Regions from separate parts of the Homo sapiens genome. Here region 1 is linked to region 2. The links are contacts of gene promoters, found by promoter capture Hi-C in blood cells and fetal thymus (Javierre and others, 2016). All regions are on one chromosome and are shown on one strand. Each heading gives the region's core, a stretch centred on a gene start or on the middle of the fragment in contact. The rest is flanking DNA. Distances are from core to core; before and after follow the strand shown.

Region 1 (3,635 bases), core at 686-3,185, 530 kb before region 2:
CTGCATGCCTGGCTGCTCCCACCAGCTCAAGATTATCTCTCTGGTGACGTGCTGCCTGGGGCTTGGCATGTACCCACCCCTGCGATCTTGCCCCTGCTGCAGCCAAGAGCAAAGTTTCAGTCTCTGGGACCCCAGCCAGACAACTCAAGGAGAGCCAATGAACTTGTATTTATGCAGTACCTACTAGCTGCCAGGCATGCAGCCAAGCCTTGGGGACTTTGTTCTCATTATTTTCTCACCTTTCCCACTGCACAAGTCTTAGCATCTCTCAGGTTTCACTTCTGCCACAAATCATGGCCATCATCCTCCCCGTGAACACCTGCAGCATTTACTGCCATGACATTCCTTGGCTTTGAATTAACCTCGTGACCTTTCTTGTATCTTTATGTTCTTAGGGCCGAACCTGAGGGTGGGGACCTGGGTCTAAGCTGTCCCACTGGTGGGCACCTTCCCTTCCTTTCCTGAACATTTTTGGAATGTAGGAGTGACCCCAGAGGAGGATTACAAAGCCCTTCTTCAAAGGAGAGGTTGAAAGTGGTGCCCGGGTTCTATAAACATTTGCACTGAGCATTCCTAAATGACAGGGAGATTTATAGTTTGAGTGCCTTCCCATTACGAAGACTGTTTAAGTGACTTGGGAAAGTTTCTTTAAAAAGAAAAAAAAATGGAGCAGATTAAGATGAGATTTTATTTTTCTTTTTTTCCTTAAAAAGAAAAAAAGGCTAGGCGAGGTGGCTCATGTCTGTAATCCAAAGGCTAGGTGAGGTGGCTCATGTCTGTAATCCCAGAACTTTGGGAGGCCGAGGTAGGTGGATCATTTGAGGTCAGGCGTTTGAGACCAGCTTGGCCAACGTGGTGAAATCCTTGTCTCTACTAAAAATACGAAAATTAGCTGGGCGTGGTGGTGCACACCTGTAATCCCAGCTACTGGAGAGGCTGAGGCGGGAGAATCGCTTGAATCTGGGAGGTGGAGGTTGCAGTGAGCTGAGAAGCCGAGACCACGCCACTACACTCCAGCCTGGGTGACAGAGTAAGACTCCGTCTCAAAAAAAAAAAAAAAAACAAATTCTTCCTGGGCTTTCTTAAAGCTGGGGTGTGTGTGAAGCGAAGCTGAGGAAGTTCAATTGTTCTCCCACTAAGTTCTCTTTCCTGGAACAAAGAGGACCTGCAAAGAGAGTGAGAGGACTGCTGGCATCTTGAAATATTCTTCTACTCTCCTTTGTCCTCTTTTCCTTGGGTGAGGCATGCAGAGACTCCTCTTGGTTTGTTATTTGCTCATTTATTTGTTCATTCATTTGCTTATTCATTCAAAAGCTAGTAAGAGAAGATTGTTAAATTTGAAAATTTTGCTTCCCAGAATTAAACCATTTTAAATCAACCATGACAGCAGTATTTATACCTTGGATATTGGCAAATGCTATAGGTTATTAAATAAAATAAAATAACATTTTATTTACAATTTAATAAAAATTACAATTTCAAATTTTTGTCTTTAAAAAAGAAAATAACAACCTGCTGTTTATGTGTTGGAATTGTGTTATGTATCAGGGCATAAGAGTGAACAAGATAGTCCAGTCTCTGCTCAAAGGGAGCTTACAGTCTGGTGCTGCACTGTCCTGTCCAATCTGGTAGCCATTAGCTACTAGCTACTGCTGTGGTTATTAATTTATTTTTTAAAGTTTTTAATTTTGGCTGAGTCTGGTGGCTCATGCCTGTAATCCCAGCGCTTTGGGAGGCCGAGGCAGGTGGATCACCTGAGGTTAGGAGTTCGAGACCAGTCTGGCCAACATGGCGAAACCCCGTCTCTACTCCAAATCCAAAAAAAAAAAAAAAAAAAAAAAATTAGCCAGGTGTGGTGGTGGGCGCCTGTAATCCCAACTACTCGGAAGACTGAGGCAGGAGAATCACTTGAACCTGGGAGGCGGAGGTTGCAGTGAGCCGAGATTGAGCCAGTGCACTCCAGCCTGGGCAACAAGAGTGAAACTCTGTCTCAAAAAAAAAAAAGTTTTTAATTTTTGTGGGTACCCAGTATGTGTATCTATTTTAGGGTACACGAGATATTTTGATACAGGCATACAATGCATAATAATCTCATCAGGGCATCCATCACTTCAAGCATTTATCCTTTATGTTACAAACAATCCAATTATACTCTTTTAGTTATTTTTAAATGTACAATAATTTATTTTTTTTGAGACGGAGTCTTGCTCCATTGCCCAGGCTGGAGTGCAATGGCATGATCTTGGCTCACTGCAACCTCTGCCTCTCGGGTTCAAGCAATTCCCCTGCCTCAGCCTCCCGAGTAGCTGGGATTACAGGCATGCACCACCATGCCTGGCTAATTTTTGTATTTTTAGTAGAGACGGGGTTTTACCATGTTGGTCAGGCACGTCTTGAACTCCTGTCCTTGTGATCTGCCCGCCTCAGCCTTCCAAAGTGCTGGGATTACAGGCATGAGCCACTGCACCCAGCCTTAGGCTGGTGCTTTTTAAACTTTTTTTGCTTCTGGGGAGTGGGTGATAGGGAAAGTTCTGCCAGCCTGGGAGGGGCCCACTAGAGCCTGCTGCTCCAGTGTGGATTGTGGGGAGAGGAAAAGGAACTGTGTGCTTTGGGCCCAGATCACTGGAGTGCCCTGAGTCTCTGAGAAGTTTACCCTACATCCCTCCTGTGGCAGCACCATCCACTTCACCAGGATCTGACCAGGGCCTTCAGGGGGACACAGCCTCCCCGGATCTGAGCATCACTATCATTCTAATTCCTTGGGCTGTTTCTGTGTAGATAATTATTTTCCAGCTCATTCAGGCAGGTGAGGTTGAGGCCAGCAGTGCAGCTAAATCCTTACACCGTGACTGGGGCTGCTTTTATACAGGTTAGGGGAAGAATAATCACTTATGGCTGAAATCTAATGGAAGAGGGAGTTCTGTGTAACTCTAGTGGGCAGAGCTGAGTTTAGAAGGTTAGTAGGAGGCAGATTTCAGCCCAGTAGAAGGAACAATAATGTTCCAGTAATTATACAATTATTATCCAACAGGGGCTATACTGTCATAAATTCTTCAAACGGAGGCCAGATGTTAGGAAGGCCACAAAGAGGATTCCTACTGGGAGAGGCCAAACTTGAACCATCTGTTTATTTATTTTATTTTATTTATTTATTTTTTTGAGAATGGAGTTTCACTCTTGTCACCCAGGCTGGAGTGCAATGGCACAAACTTGGCTCACTGCAACCTCCGCCTCCCGGGTTCAGGTGATTCTTTTGCCTCAGCCTCCCAAGTAGCTAGGATTACAGGCATGCACCACCACGCCTGGCTAATTTTGTATTTTTAGTAGAGACGGGGTTTCTCTATGTTGGTCAGGCTGGTCTCGAACTCTTGACCTCAGGTGATCCACCCACCTCGGCCTCCCAAAGTGCTGGGATCAGAGGTGTGAGCCACCACACCGAGCTGGTAAGTATATTTTTATTTTTATTACTATTTTTTTTGAGACAGAGTCTTGCTCTGTTGCCCAAGGCTGGAGTGCAATGGCAAGATTTCAGCTCACTGCAAACTCCGCCTCCCAGGTTCAAGCAATTCTTCTGCCTCAACCTCCCAAGTAGCTGGGAATACAGGCGCATGCCACCACGCCTGGCTATTTTTTTT
Region 2 (3,142 bases), core at 434-2,933:
TCCCAGGCTTCAAAACCACAGCAAGAAGAAAGCAGGCAGCAAGATAAAAGAAGATTCAGGCCAGGCGCGGTGGCTTAAGCCCGTAATCTCAGTACTTTGGGAGGCCAAAGAGGATGGATGACTTGAGCTCAAGAGTTCAAGACTAGCCTGAGCAAAATGTCGACACCCAGTTTTTACAAAATAGTAAAAAAATTAGAGAGGCATGGTGGAGCATGCCTGTAGTCCCAGCTACTCAGGAAGCTGAGGTGGGATGATCACCTGAGCCCAGGAGGTGGCGGTTGCAGTGAGCCGAGATTGAGCTGCTGCACTCCAGCCTGGGTGACAGAGTGAGACCCTGTCTCAAGGCAGAAAAAAAAAGAAGATTCAGCAATGTTTTGGTTTGACTCTTCCCATGGTAGAGATGGGGCAATGAGTTGCAGAACAGAGAGATGAGGTGCCTTGAAGTCTTCTTTGCGGTTTGTAGACTAATATAGAATGTAGGGCACAGTCTACAAGGTTAACAGGAGAAACAGGGAAGGAACGAATCCTCTGCTAGGTGCAGCTGTTGGAGCTCTTTTGATGAAGGACTGGAGAGCTAGGAATTCTTGGTCCTCAGGAGGAGGAGGAAACTGCCTGGGAGACTTCTGGGATAGGCAGCCTCAAATGCAGCTTGGAGGTGATGATTCATGGTACACCATCTTGTACAGTTTTATCTTCCCAACAGGACCATGAGCTTGTTGAAGATAAATAATGTGCATTGTGTTTCTTTTGAATTCCCACAGGACTAGTCACAGGATGGACATGGTTGGCACTTCCTTAATATTACTTGATTGTATCAGAAAGAGGGGAGCCTCAATAGACATTTACTCAGCACTTACATATACCGGGCATTGCGAAAGTTTTCACATGTGAATATTCATTACAAACCCCATTTTACAGACATGAAAGTTGAGGCACAGAAAAGTTTCATGGCTTGCTCAAGGTCCCACAACTATGAGCAGGTCTGAGATTCAAACCCGAGTCTTTCTCCTCTCACAACCTCTCTTCCCAGGAGACAGAGCACTGGCTGGCCTTGAGAGTCACATTATATTGCAGTGGGCAGGGCACAGGCACACATACACTCCAGAAAACCATGTGTGACCTACACAATAGACACGGAAGCTTAAGAGCAGAATAAAGGGGCAATCAAAATGGGGTGGATTCCTAAGGAAGATGATTACAGAGCGCGACCTTCAAGGTTTGGAAAGACAGCTTGATGGGGCTTGGGGAACCAGGCAGTAGGTGCTGAGAAAATGCTTAGGGAATAGGAAGCACCCCAAGGAAACAGTGAAGTGTAGTGGCTTGTATTAACACAAGATGTTTGGACAGGACGGAGTTGGTCCCAGGCCTAAGAAAGCGGTTTAGAAATGAGGCAGTGTTTGCTGAGTCCTTTACAAGATGCATCATTAGCACATGACGGAAAGCAATTAACTTGCTTCTTACTCATATGCTGATCAAGTTGCAACTGGAAAGGAGTTTGCACGTTGTGGGGAGGGGGTGCCAGGGAACCAGCCAGTGGCCCTTACACCATTTCCCGAGGGATGCCGAGTGTGAGCTCAGGGTTGGCGGATGCCCAGGGAATGCCATCAGAAGGCCCTCTCCACTAGCAGTGCCCCGCCCCCACAGGATGCTCATAAAAGCCACGAGACCAGGGCTCTCCAGCCACCTGTCTTCTCCACTGCCTGTACCAGCCCACCTCAGGTGCCTTCTCGCCGGCCTTCCTCACCCACCATGTCTCGGCAGTCCTCCATCACCTTCCAGTCTGGCAGCCGCAGGGGCTTCAGCACCACCTCGGCCATCACCCCGGCAGCTGGCCGCTCCCGCTTCAGCTCTGTCTCTGTGGCCCGCTCTGCAGCAGGGAGTGGGGGCCTGGGAAGGATCAGCAGTGCTGGGGCCAGCTTTGGAAGCCGCAGCCTCTACAACCTGGGGGGTGCCAAGCGGGTCTCCATCAATGGGTGTGGCAGCAGCTGCCGAAGTGGCTTTGGTGGCAGGGCCAGCAACAGGTTTGGAGTCAACAGTGGATTTGGCTATGGGGGTGGAGTTGGAGGAGGCTTCAGTGGCCCCAGCTTCCCCGTGTGTCCCCCTGGAGGCATCCAAGAGGTCACTGTCAACCAGAGTCTCCTGACTCCTCTTCACCTGCAAATCGACCCCACCATCCAGCGGGTGCGGGCCGAGGAGCGCGAGCAGATCAAGACCCTCAACAATAAGTTCGCCTCCTTCATCGACAAGGTAAGCAGGGGCTTCATCCACCCCCTTGGGTTTGGGATCAAATAAACTCTTGGAAGGGCCATCCCATGGGGGGAGAGCAATAATGCAATGACCCCACTGTGGGAATGAGCACTGTTCAGCACGGGCTCCCAGGGGCTGAGACCCTTCCAAGTCAGGCCAGCTTGCCCCACAGGACCTGGTAGAAATTTCCTCTCTTTCGGAGCCACATGGGCTGGTTCAGTCAACACCAAGGGAAGAGTTTTGTTGATTCTCTACAGGAGAGTTGCTGCTCAGCAAACTACCCTAACCCAGAGTAGGTGGTGTTGAGAAACTTAACCCAAGAGCAGCTCCCCAACAGAAGCCTCTAGGCCCCACCACCCGAATCCTATGCAAGCCCTAGGGAACTTTGCGGTAGCTCCATGGACTGCCTCCTTTTGGGTTGGAGTTGTCAGTTACATTATTGTCAATGGGTGCCAAGTGAAAAAAATATCTTTTTCTTCTCTCCCTTATTAATAGGAGTGTCTAACTCTGCCTCTCCAACTTCTCAAGGTTTCATTCTCTCTTCTTCCCTCCAGGTGAGGTTCTTGGAGCAGCAGAACAAGGTCCTGGAGACCAAGTGGGCCCTCCTGCAGGAGCAGGGCTCCAGGACTGTGAGGCAGAACCTAGAGCCCCTCTTTGATTCCTATACCAGTGAGCTCCGACGGCAGCTGGAAAGCATCACCACCGAGAGGGGCAGGCTTGAAGCTGAACTGAGGAACATGCAGGATGTTGTGGAAGATTTCAAAGTCAGGTAAGTGGGAGACTGGCTTCTGGCCACACACAGCCATCTGAAGGCTCCTTTGTGTGAGGACCAGAGAGGTGCAAAGGAGCAAATGCCGATATCAGCCGGGAGCTTTGGAACTGCAGCCTTTATCCT

Evidence for each region. Contacts are between HindIII fragments. The CHiCAGO score rates a contact against its expected background, and 5 or more counts as called.
Region 1: a contact is called between a fragment that was not itself captured here and the fragment with the promoter of KRT75 in region 2, in 7 of 17 cell types (M1 macrophages, M2 macrophages, M0 macrophages and 4 more). The highest score is 10.1, in M1 macrophages.

The regions. Positions count from the first base shown.
Region 1 is chr12:52,966,862-52,970,496 of GRCh38, reverse strand. No RefSeq gene overlaps it. Among named protein-coding and RNA genes, the nearest start is that of KRT18, 20 kb to the right of the region's middle. The HindIII fragment of the contact is 7,174 bases long and covers 1-3,635 here.
Region 2 is chr12:52,432,912-52,436,053 of GRCh38, reverse strand. It overlaps KRT75 (keratin 75), which reads left to right and starts at 1,683. Exons shown (of 9, transcript NM_004693.3): 1 at 1,683-2,247; 2 at 2,802-3,016. The coding sequence starts at 1,750. The HindIII fragment of the contact is 2,406 bases long and covers 1,143-3,142 here.